3 separate regions of the Homo sapiens genome follow, and all the other regions are linked to region 1. The links are contacts of gene promoters, found by promoter capture Hi-C in blood cells and fetal thymus (Javierre and others, 2016). All regions are on one chromosome and are shown on one strand. The core of a region is centred on a gene start or on the middle of the fragment in contact, and the rest is flanking DNA. Distances in the headings are between cores, read along the strand shown.

Evidence for each region. Contacts are between HindIII fragments. The CHiCAGO score rates a contact against its expected background, and 5 or more counts as called.
Region 2: the fragment with the promoter of DYNLL1 here is called in contact with a fragment that was not itself captured in region 1 in 3 of 17 cell types (naive CD8 T cells, naive CD4 T cells and erythroblasts); the score reaches 5.3 in naive CD8 T cells.
Region 3: a contact is called between the fragment with the promoter of SRSF9 here and a fragment that was not itself captured in region 1, in 1 of 17 cell types (M2 macrophages). The highest score is 5.3, in M2 macrophages.

What each region holds. Positions count from the first base shown.
Region 1 is chr12:120,321,642-120,325,750 of GRCh38, reverse strand. PLA2G1B (phospholipase A2 group IB) reads left to right here. Exons shown (of 4, transcript NM_000928.3): 3 at 690-817; 4 at 3,434-3,636. The coding sequence ends at 3,558. Among named protein-coding and RNA genes, the nearest start is that of PLA2G1B, 4.1 kb to the left of the region's middle. RefSeq lists an enhancer at 16-75. The HindIII fragment of the contact is 7,122 bases long and covers 1-4,109 here.
Region 2 is chr12:120,493,912-120,498,020 of GRCh38, reverse strand. It overlaps DYNLL1 (dynein light chain LC8-type 1), which reads right to left and starts at 1,908. Exons shown (of 3, transcript NM_003746.3): 1 at 1,805-1,908; 2 at 1,468-1,605. The coding sequence starts at 1,599. It overlaps NRAV (negative regulator of antiviral response), which reads left to right and starts at 2,075. Exons shown (of 2, transcript NR_038854.1): 1 at 2,075-2,198. RefSeq lists silencers at 1,505-2,024, 2,315-2,364 and an enhancer at 1,584-2,250. The HindIII fragment of the contact is 1,365 bases long and covers 1,348-2,712 here.
Region 3 is chr12:120,467,539-120,471,647 of GRCh38, reverse strand. SRSF9 (serine and arginine rich splicing factor 9) reads left to right here and starts at 1,900. Exons shown (of 4, transcript NM_003769.3): 1 at 1,900-2,226. The coding sequence starts at 2,039. It also overlaps a transcript of DYNLL1 not described here. RefSeq lists silencers at 1,942-2,241, 2,492-2,661. The HindIII fragment of the contact is 9,777 bases long and covers 416-4,109 here.

The DNA.
Region 1 (4,109 bases), core at 568-3,067:
ACATATTTTCACCTCTTGTCAAATAAACAAATATGTTCCAAGAGGACCCTGTAGCGAACGCACCCCGTTAGAGATGGAAACAATGACCGACGTGCAAAACAGTGGGCGATGCTGCCCTCCAGTGGCAGAATGTAGCAACAGTAAACATCACAGCAACTATCCACGTGTCATTTTCTAGCAGTGGTTGTCACTGCACCTTCTGAATACAGGATTTTACTGTATTCTTGCAACCATGTTAAAAATCGCTTTCAGGCCAGGCGCGGTGGCTCATGCCTGTAATCCCAGCACTTTGGGAGGCCGAGGCGGGCGGATCACTTGAGGTCAGGAGTTCGAGACCAGCCTGGCCAACATGGTGAAACCCTGTCTCTACTAAAAAATACAAAAATTAGCCGGACATGGTGGCGAGCGCCTGTAACCCCAGCTACTTGGGAGACTGAGTTGGAGGTTTCAGTGAGCCAAGGTCGTGTCACTGCTGTCCAGCCTGGGTAACAGAGCAACTCTGTCTCAAAAAAAAAAAATGCTTTCAATAAATATATGATAAAAGGACTTATATTTTTTCAAGCCATAGGATCATTTCTCCTGAAGCATCTTGGCGAAGTCATCCCCACCTGTTCCTGAGAGTGGGCAGGTGAGGGCTGACCTATTGCTCTGCACTTACTCCTATCTCAGCTGTCCCTCCCACTTTCCAGGTGCTGCCAGACACATGACAACTGCTATGACCAGGCCAAGAAGCTGGACAGCTGTAAATTTCTGCTGGACAACCCGTACACCCACACCTATTCATACTCGTGCTCTGGCTCGGCAATCACCTGTAGCAGTAGGTTTATCCCTTCCTTGACCTATGAATTCTAGTTGGTTCTCAGTAGGCCGGGGGGAAATAATAGTAACAACAGCCATGATTTAGTGTTAATTTTCTTGGTTCTGGGCAGTGTCTCCTTTAATCCTCAGAACAACACTATGGGATAGGTACAATTATCCTCACTTAACAGATAAGAAAACTGAGGCTCAGAAGGCTGAGCTATTTGCCCAAGATCACACAGCTTGTAAGTGGTGACAGTTTGGGTTTTTTTTTGTTGTTGTTTAGAGACAGGGTCTTGCTCTGTCACCCAGGCATGAGCACAGTGGTGCAACCATAGGTCACTGCAGCCTCAACCTCCTGAGCTCAAGGGATCTGCTGACCTCAGCCTCCCAAGTAGCTGGGACTACGAGCGTGCACCACCACGCCTGGCTAATTAAAAAAATTTTTTTGTAGAGACTGGGTCTTACTACGTTGGCCAGGCTTGTCTTAAACTCCTGGCTTCAAGCAATCCTCCTACCTTGGCATCCCAAAGTGCTGGGATTACAGGGGTGAGCCACCATGTGCGGCTACTTATTTCTTTACATTCCATCTTTCCAATAGAATGTAAGATCCACAGAACAGGGATTACTGCCTATTTTCTTCCTTTCTTTTTTGAGACAGAGTCTCACTTCATCACCTCAACCTCCGTTCAGCTCACTGCAACCTCTGCCTCCCGGGTTCAAGCGATTCTCCTGCCTAAGCCTCCTGAGTAGCTGGAATTACAAGCGTGCACCACCATGCTTGGCTAATTTTTTGTATTTTTAGCAGAGATGGGGTTTTACCATGTTGCCCAGGCTGGTCTCAAACTCCTGACCTCAAGTGATCTGCCTGCCTCAGTCTCCCAAAGTGCTGGAATTATAGGCGTGAGTCACTGTGCCTGGCCGATTACTGTCTATTTTCTTTATTGCTATATCCCCAGATCTAGAGCAGTGTCTGACATATAGTAGGTGCTCAATAAATAATTGATGAATGCACAGCCTAGATATAAACTTTCTTTTTCTTTTTTTAAAACAATCTTGACAACTTTGCAGAATAAATACAATCTTGCATTCTGCTTTTTCACTTATCACCTTGTTATGACTTTTTCATATTGCCTCAAACCTTTATTGTTACTGTTTTTTCATTGTTACTATTTTAGTCACTGAATAATATGGCTTAATTTGCTTATACATCCTCCTGCTCCACTTTAGAAGGCCAAATTTACAAATCTGATGAAAGCTATGAACCCTCTCCCCAGAGAAATACACACACACACACACACTCACACACAGTTTTTTTTTAATGTTTGCAACTAAGACAAGAAACCTGCATTAGAGGATGTTTGTTCATATTAATTAAAAATAACTCAGTTGGGCACAGTGACTCAAGCCTGTAACCACAGTACTTTGGAAGTCCAAGGTGGGTGGATCACTTGAGGTGAGAAGTTCGAGACCAGCCTGGTCAATATGGTGAAACCCTATCTCTACTAAAAATACAAAAATTAGCTGGGTGTAGTGATGCATGCCTGTAGTCCCAGCTACTCGGGAGGCTGAGGCAAGAGAATTGCTTGAACCTGGGAGGCAGAGGTTGCAGTGAGCCGAGATCCCACCACTGCACTCCAGCCTGGGCGACACAGCGAGACTCTATCTCAAAAAAATAAATAAATAAAATAAAGGATCGGAGAGAAACAAAACTAATAAGATTCCTGAAGGTAAGCAGAGATACGTAAATTATATGTAATAAAGTTTAAATGCATTTTAACTGTAATCTTATTGTTTATTTTGGTTATAAAAGTAAACAAGCCAAAAGTAATGCAACTTCAAACTCTACATAAATATCTATTATGGAAAGTGGAAGGCATCTATAATCCTACTACCCAAAGATAACCAGTTACATATTCCTCCAGATTTTTGGGGCATACACTAGCTTTTTTTATTTGGGAAAATTTCCATGTGCAGGCATACCTAATTTTTCTAAATGTCTATGTAGTATTCCATTTAAGGATGTTCCATAATTTTTAAAATACATGCTTTAAAGTAGAGAAACTAGGTTGGGCATGGTGGCTCACGCCTGTATCCCAGCACTTTGGGAGGCCGAGGCAAATGGATCACTTGAGGTCCGGAGTTTGAGACCAGCCTGGACAACATGATGAAACACCCTCTCTAATAAAAATACAAAAATTAGCTGGGCATGGTGGCGAGCACCTGTAGTCCCAGCTACTCAGGAGTCTGAGGCAGGAGTATCACTTGAACTCAGGAGGCAGAAGTTGCAGTGAGCTGAGATCACGCCACTGCACTCCAGCCTAGGCGACAAAAGGGAAACTCCGTCTTAAAAACAAAACAAAACAAAAAAACACAGGATGCCCAGATAAATATGACTTTCAGATAAGCAATGGATAATTTTTTGGGGGGTATATGTCCCAAATATTGCATTCATTGTTTATCTGAAAGTCAAATTTAACTGGGCATCCTGATGTACTTGTATTCACTTAATCTGTCAGCCCTAAATGTGCATCAGTGGAATGGCTGCCAGCTTATTCCAGTTAATTCTTCTTGCCCCAGATTGTACAAAACAGGGTCCACCTTGGCTCAGTCCTCTCCTTTCATCCCTCTCCAGGCAAAAACAAAGAGTGTGAGGCCTTCATTTGCAACTGCGACCGCAACGCTGCCATCTGCTTTTCAAAAGCTCCATATAACAAGGCACACAAGAACCTGGACACCAAGAAGTATTGTCAGAGTTGAATATCACCTCTCAAAAGCATCACCTCTATCTGCCTCATCTCACACTGTACTCTCCAATAAAGCACCTTGTTGAAAGACCTCATGTTTGGATATTGTTTTATTCTCTGTCTATAAACTAGGTCTCTGCCTACTCTTTTATTTTTATGTATTTATTTTTTCTAGGTGGAGTCTTGCTCTGTGGCCCAGGCTGGAGTGCAGTGATGCCACCTTGCCTCACTGCAACCTCCGCCTCCCGGGCTCAAGCAATCCTCCCGCCTCATCCTCCCGAGTAGCTGGGACCATAGGCATGCACCACCATGCCTGGCTAATTTTTGTATTTTTTGTAGAGACAGAGTTTCGCCATGTTGCCCTGGCTGGTCTCAAACTCCTCAGCTTAAGTGATCTGCCTGGCTCGGCCTCGCAAAGTGTTGGGATTACATGCATGAGCCGCCGCGCCTGGCTACTCTGCCTAGTCTTTTGTGAGTATCATTTCTTCCAGCCTTGGAAGCTAAGTTGAATTAGAAAGACACTTCCAGGAAGCAAGCAAGCACCTTGAAACCTGAGTAATGATT
Region 2 (4,109 bases), core at 659-3,158, 170 kb before region 1:
TTGCCTCTTGGATAAGCCAGAGCCTGTAGGGGCAGAAAGGAGGAACGTCAGCATCTGCAAATTCTTAGAATGAAAGAATGTTCCCCAGCTCCAAGCCGCCTACATAGTACATTAATACAAACATACTTGCAGTCTGAGCGAAGATGGGAATGGAGGCTGAGGAGGTCAAAGGACGAAAGGTCAGCCCTAAAGACAGGGTGTTTTGTTATTATGGTAATTACACCTTCATACCTTCTATAATATTCATTGACAGACGGTGACATCAACAGGTGTAGTTTATCATGTTCTGTGTAGAGAACTAAACTACCCTACTGTATTTGCCATGCCCCCAATTCCAAGAAAACGGCAAAAAATTAGCCCATCCCATTCCTCATCACAAAGATCTTAACTGCACCCCTGCAACACAAGACTTTTCCAATAGGACAAAACTTCAAACAGCATTGTATACCAAATGATTGCGGATCAAAATTAAATTTACAGGAACACAATACTGAAGCACTCCACTGTTGCTGTAAAAACTGCTGGAAACAGAATCTGTCAACTGGCCAAATTTTATCCTTAATTATTATCCAAACAGCCGTCCTCTTCACATCTATCCGGATGATGCTAATCTACTACCCTGTCCACTAGGTTAGCAAGTTGTAGGAACAACTCTTCACCATTTCTCCCACCCTAAGAGGTACTGGGGAGTAGAATGCCTGTGGGGGGCATTGGGTGGCAACGGTTATCTTTCTCTGCAAAATTCTTACAAGTGTTTGTGGAGCGTCACACAAGATTTAGCTACTCTAACTGCACGCAGTGCGAAAACCTTTTAAAGCTATGAAGGGGAGTAACGCTCTTGCAAGCTAGAGGCACGCACTGCTGCGTTTGTCAAAAAAGGCATTTATTTCTGTTCCATCTGAAGTCTTTCATCTTCCCATTCTCGACTGGAACCCTCCCACGGCTTAGGCTGCCAGCTTTCTTCCCTTCCAGCAAACACTGCTCGAGAAGTTGGCAGTCCTGCCGGCTTTCTAGACTGCCATTTACCAAGCCCCTACCCCAGCCCCCAGCCCCGCCACCACCCACCACCTTCCCTCAACTCCCCACTGGAAGGCTGGCAAGATCTCCTCCCGGCCCGGCTGGAAACACCCACGCAGCTCCCCCCTCCGGAACACCCAGATGGATCCTCGGCGCAGGAACCACACAGAAGGGGGAACCGCTGCTCCCTGATCTTAGATACCGTTGCTAGGTGGCGCTTTCCCCCCGCGGAGCTGGGTAATTAAAAAAAAAAAAAAAAAAACTTCGGACGCCGGGGGTCTGGTCTTCTCCACAGGAGCGCAAAATGCATCTGCGTCCTTTCTGGAAGCTTCTACGCCCCAAGCCGCCAGCAGTATTCCCGGGACCTGTCAGGCGCCCTTAGGAAAGCAGGATCGGGGGGAAGGAACCCCCTGCTCCCGGCTGCGTATCGGCCCCCGCGCCCATCCTCACCTTCTTGATATGAGCCGCAATGTCCTTCTCTATGTTGTATTTCTCCAGCGCCTGAGTAGCGCACTCCACCGAGTCCTGTTGCATCTCTTCCGACATGTCCGCATTTTTGATCACGGCCTTTCGGTCGCACATGGTTACCTAGTGGGCAAGGCCTGGGGTAAGGGGTTGAGTTGGGCCGCGCCCCCCAGGCACTAACTGCCCCCACCCCGGCCGGCGCCACCACGGGACGACGCCCCCCACCCCACTTCTCAGGAAGCGCGGGCTACGCGGAGGGCTAAGTCCGGAGTGGGGCGAAATAAGGCAGCGAGGACACCCCCTGGCCCCCCGAGTTTCTCACCGTGGAGAAGGGGGCTGGCCGACTGCAACGGTCTCCTGGGGGAGGTGCTAGCACAGCTCAGGCCCGGCTAGAGATACCGTCGCTACCGAAACCGTGGCGCATCTAAGCAGCCCCACGCCAGCCGCCGCCGCCTAGTGCTCAGGCCCCGCCCTGCTCCCGCCGGCCCCGCCCCTCGCCGCGCGACCCTATTGGCTTGACGCAGCCCACGGCATTCTTCCATTGGTCCATTGACTCCATGGTTCCCTCAGGATCTTTCTCCTGCATTTTGTTGCAGACCACAATGCACCGCTCACGGCGTCGGTTGCCCGGGCAATGGGCCGCACGCTACGAGGCCCACACACCCAGAAGGTGGAGCCCCGGCCGGGTTACGAGGACCACCCAGCTGTCTGGAGAGGTAGGAAGGGAGCTTCTGCCGGGGCCAAGGGAAGTGATTCCAAATTCACGGAGGTTGTCCCAGGGTGTGTTCTCGAACAACAGTCTCTAGAAGTTGGTGGCCATTCCTGCCCCCACCCCCCCGCCCCCCCACCACGACAGGTCGCATGATCTCGCACCCCAGGTTAGCAGGATTACGACAGAGGTGGCCTCTCCCTTTACTGAAAGGGTATCTCTGAAGCAGGGCCGGCTTCGTGGGTAAACCAGCAGTGCAGTCTCACAGGAGGGACCCTTACGTTTTCATTTTGCACTGGGCCCCATTTGTAGTCGGTTCTGCTCTGAAATATTTAGGGGAGGGCATCCTCAGGATTGAGGGAGGGCTTCAAGGAGGGAGGGTGTTTCCTTACGAATTAAGGGATTATCCCCAAGAGTGGGGTCTCTGCCAAGCAATGCGGACATCCTTTAAGGGGTTGGGGATGGGGATCCGGGTGGATTTGGGAGTGTTGAGCCCCGGGGTTTTTGTCCAGGGTGAAGCTTCTTGCTCAGGTGAGGCAGTCTTTCCTGTGTGGGAGAGATTCTTGGTTGGGATTTATCTCTGAGGAGGAGGTATTCTAATGGACGAAAAAGCGGCCGTTAGAGAGATGACGTCCCCTCTGGCTTAGGGAGGAGACACGAAGTGGTTAAAAAAGCAAGATCTTGGGGGAGTTGAGGGACAAGTCAGATCTGGATTTAAATCCCAGCACTGTCATTTACTAGCTATTTGAATGTCTTCTTTAAGTAAAGGAGGACTAAATGTAAAAGGAAACCAGTTCATACGCTTGTTAGCAGTATTAAACATTTGAAGTTCTCTCAGCACAATGTGAGGCACATAGTAAATGATCAATGAATCTTATCAATAATTGTCAGTTTATACAACTATCCCAAAGGCCACAGCAAGGTTTTGAACAACCAGCTCTGAAATGCCTATAATGTATTTTTCGAACCTCCATAAATAAGTTATCAGGTTAATCATGTATCTGGAAGCTTCCTATTTACATTTCTACATTTTCCTCTGACCATCTACTCTCATTACTCCTTAAAACAATTTGTGGCTGGGCATGATGGCTCACACCTGTAATCCCAGCACTTTGAGAAGCCGAGTCAAGGGGATCGCTTGAGCTCAGTAGTTGGAGACCAGCCTGGGCAATATGGCCAAACCCCATCTCAAAAAATAAAAATAAAACAATTTGAGCAGAGGCACACAACTCCAGAAAGAAAAAGATGGGAATAGGCCGGGTGCGGTGGCTCATGCCTATAATCCCAGCACTTTGGGAGGCCGAGGCGGGTGGATGACCTGAGGTAAGGAGTTTGAGACCAGCCTGATCAACATGGAGAAACCCCATCTCTACTAAAAATACAAAATTAGCTGGGCATGGTGGCACGTGCCTGTAATCCCACCTACTCAGGAGGCTGAGGCAGGAGAATCACTTGAACCCGGGACACAGAGTCTGTAGTGAGCCGAGATCGCGCCATTGCACTCCAGCCTGGGCAACTCCGTCTCAAAAAAAAAAAAAAGGAAAAAAATGGCAATAATTAGAACCTTTTCAGGTTCAACATATGCATATCAATTAAATCAACAGCTTTTTCCAGTTCCATGTTTCTAATGATGAGATTCAGGGTTTGAGGAGTTATAATATTACTATAGTACCTCTCTTGAGGAAGAAATAGGTTGACAACAAGTGAGGACCCTGGAAATGCAAATGACACTAAAGTAAAGCCACGGTGACTCCACTAAGTAGAAACCCCAGGGAAATTTCCTAAATCATCCTCATGATTTTTTTCCATATCTACACTACACTACCCCTGTTATTATTTATTTAATTTTTACTATAATAATACTATCATCATAATATAGTAATGTAATTGTTCATTAATAATACCTTATATGGCCGGG
Region 3 (4,109 bases), core at 651-3,150, 150 kb before region 1:
CAGTGTAAGACTCCGTCTCAAAACAAACAAACAAAAAATCCTACAAGCAGAATTACAAGATCGAAGGGTATATGTATATTATGAAAGCCTGATGTATACTATCAACTTGTATTCCAAAAAAGATATACACTCAGTAGTATATGTGGGTGTCTAGTCTTTGGTTTGTTTTGATTTTAAAATGCTCAGATGGTATAATGAGAAATCAACTACCTTCTGATTAAATGTGTGGTTTTAGTCCCTTTTTTTGTTTGTTTTTGTTTTGTCTTGTTTTTGAGACAGAGTCTCCCTCTGTCACCCAGGCTGGAGGAGTGCAGTGGCACAATCTCGGCTCACTGCAACCTCTGCCTCCCAGATTCAAGCGATTCTCGTGCCTCATCCTCCCAAGCAGCTGGGACTACAGGCGTGCCACCAAGCTTGGCTAATTTTTTTTTTTTTTTGTATTTTTAGTAGGGGGGCGGGTCTTGCCATGTTGGCCAGGCTGGTCTTGAACTCCTGGCCTCAAGTGATCCACCCACCTCAGCCTCCTAAAGTGCTGGGATTACAGGCATGAGCCACCACGCCCAGCCAGGTTTCATTTTTAATATGAAAAATCTTTATTTATTTTTGAGACAGTCTCACTCTGTCACCCAGGCTGAAGTGCAGTGGCATGATCTCGGCTCACTGCAACCTTCGCCTCCCGGGCTCAAGCAATTCTCCTGCCTCAGCCTCCCGCGTAACTGGGATTATAGGAACACGCCACCACGCCCAGCTAATTTTTGTATTTTTAGTAGAAACGGGGTTTCCCCATGTTGCCCAGGCTAGTCTCGAACTACTGACCTCAAGTGATCCTCCCGCCTTGGCCTCTCAAAGTGTTGGGATTACAGGCGTGAGCCACCGCACCCAGCCTGAACAATCTTTAGGTTAGGAGTATTCCAGCCGGGCGCCGGGCTCAAGCCGGTAATCCAACACTTTGGGAGGCCAAGGCTGGAGGATCGGTTGAGCCCAGGAGTTCGAGACCAGCCTCTCTACAAAAAAAATAGAAAATAAACTAGCTGGACGCAGCGCAGACCCCTCACGGCGCCCCGAGGTGGGAGGATCACCTGAGTCCAGCGAGATCGAGACTGCAGTGAGCCGTGTTCGCGCCATTGCACTCCAGCCTGAGCAACAGAATAAGACCCTGTATCAAAAACAAACAAAAAGTCTTCTGGTGCAAGGCCTCACTGTAAGGTCCCTGGGTTCAATGCTCCGCGTTCTGGGATGTGAATGTGGAAAAGTAAGTGCCAAGGTGGGTGTCTACCTGAGCTCCATAAGGACTCAGTACTTAGGATGGGAGCATGGCTCTGGGTTCCATTCCTGACCCCTCTGTGGCCTCAGACTCTGCCCGGGAGAGGATGAAAAGCACAAGTCGGATGCACTCTATAGTGATCGCTGTGATACTCATTAAGAGTCTTACTCCCTCGACTCCGACAAACTCAAGGCCAAGCTATGGAGTCCATCTCATGCTGACACCGTCAGTTCTGAGCAACTGTAAAATGGGGACAGGGTGGCCCGGGGGCCTACTGACCTGAGGTGGGGGCCGCGACAGCCCGGCCGCTGCGGGGTCAGCCTGCGGTCTCCGCCTGACTCCAGCTCTCCTGCGCCCCGCAGGCCCTGGGCGCTACCCACGTCAGTGAGTGCTCACAAGTCTGTGAGGTAGGCGGCGCCACAGAGAGAAACTGAGGCGCGGGAGCCCAAGCCACTTGTCCAGCGCCTCAGCCGAGCGCGAACCGCGCTCGGGGATGGCATCCACACGGCCCGGCCCCAGGCTCTCCCTGTCAGCGCCCGAAGGCCCTTCGCACCTCCAGGGGGCGCCGGCCTGCGCGCACGCGCAATGGTCGCAGCCGCGTTCTCTTTAAGAGGACTCCTTTTGCCTCCGCCGACCCCTTCGCTTCCGCTCCGCGTTCCCACAATGCAGTGCGGCTGAGCGCCTCGGAGCCCGCGGGGACGCTGCGGGGGGACCCGTGCTGAGGCGGCGGCGGCGACGTGGGCTGCGGCGGGCCCGCGGCGTCGGGCGGTGCGGATGTCGGGCTGGGCGGACGAGCGCGGCGGCGAGGGCGACGGGCGCATCTACGTGGGGAACCTTCCGACCGACGTGCGCGAGAAGGACTTGGAGGACCTGTTCTACAAGTACGGCCGCATCCGCGAGATCGAGCTCAAGAACCGGCACGGCCTCGTGCCCTTCGCCTTCGTGCGCTTCGAGGACCCCCGGTGAGGCCCCCGCGCCCCTGCCCTCTCCTCCTCGGTGCCTGAGGCCCCCGCCTTCCCTGCTGTCCCCTCCCCCAGGGCTCCCCTCCCCCCGGCCTCCCCTCCCCCCGCCTCCGCGCAGACCCCTCACGGCGCCCCCTCACGGGTGGAGGATGAGGCAGCCTCTCCTCGCAGGCCCGGGCCGTCCTTCGCGCCGTCGTCACTTCCTTTATTTTTATTATTCCAATATTTTACTTAGAAACCCAAAAGCTGAGCCTTTGGAGGGCCCAAGCCCGCCTGCACCGGCCTCGGGGGGTCCAAATGAGCCTTGTCCGCCTCCTGCCTGGGGCAGCACCGTAGGGGGAAGCGGCCGCGGGGCAGCGCGGGGGTCGCCGTTCGCCCTTCCCGCTCGCCTCTCCCCCGGCCCGTGCTCGCCGTGGCTGGAGAGCAAGCTGCAGGGTCGCGGATGCCGCTGGAGGTCGTGGAGGGATCTCTGGTGGAATAGCTCGCCGTTCGCGCGCCCCGCCCCGCAGGCCAGGGCCCGGGCTTTGTAAAGGGATCACGGATTCGGGAAAACTTCTAAAACAGCCGGAGTGGGGCTCTGATTTCACTTCCCTCCTTTGATGAGGGAGGCTTGGCGAGATGCTAAAGGTTCCAGGGATTTGGAAACTCTAGATTCCTAACCCCGCTCTAAGGAGTGCTTGTGATTTTGCAAACAGCGTCGGCCCTCAGGCCGGAAAAAGCCCAGGAACTTTCAAAACTGTGGTTGGTGGTGGTTAGCAGCTGCGGCGCTGACCTGGTCACTCCACTCCGGCCAAATAAGAGCCCGCACCCTGTTTTCCTAGCATCATTTGCTCCCGGGGAACGCGGAATGTTCGTAGGGTGTCCGACCTACCTGGGGTGGACGTATTGATAGGGCAAGGGGAGCATCTGAGGAAGGGCAGGCAGGAAGCACCGCGAGGCGTTGATGGCTGAAGAGTCGACTCTGACAGCTCATCCCTAGTATCTCCTCATTTGCCTCAAAACCGGAACTGGGCATTTTTACCCCTAAGCCGGAGAAGGCTATGCCTCGCTTATTTAGTAACCGTGCCATTGTGGTTTTTCAACAGTTGCTATGGGTCAAGTGCCATGGTGTGTATTTAGCTTTTTTTCTTTCCTTCTTATTTTTTTAGATTGATAAATTAGGGGTTTCACCATGTTGCTCAGGCTGGTCTGGAACTCCTGAGCTCAGGTGATTCTCCCGTCTCAGCGGATCAAATTGTTAGGATTACAGGCGTGAGCAACCCGCCCAGCCTGTATTTAGTATTTTTAACAATTTATGAGGTGTAGGTACTATTTTTTTTTTTTTTTTGAGACAGGTCTTCACTCTTGTTGCCCAGGCTGGAGTGCTGTGGTGCGATCCCGGCCCACCGCAACCTCCGCCACCTGAGTTCAAGCGATTCTCCCGCTTCAGCTTCCCAGTAGCTGGGATTACAGGCGCCCGCCATCATGCCTGGCTGATTTTTCTATGTTCAGCAGATACGGGGTTTCTCCATGTTGGCCAGGTTTGTCTTGAACTCCTAACCTCAAGTGATCCACCCACCTCAGCCTCCCAAAATGCTGAGGTTACAGGCCTGAGCCACCACGCCAGGCCGGGATCAATGGATTTGAACTCCCTCTTCTGTTTTTCGAATGCAAACTTACTATATGATACGCTACATTGTCATCTTCCCTCATTCCTTTCATAATAGAAAAACTATCTTTTGGTGTCACTAGATGTGAAGATTCAAGCAAAGCATTTCATGTAGTATCTTATTTAACCATTACAATAACCCTGTGAGATAGGCATACTGTTCACATTAGAGATGTAAAAACTTGATTAAACACTTACCCAGAGATGACTACTAGTAATTTGCAGAATAGTGATT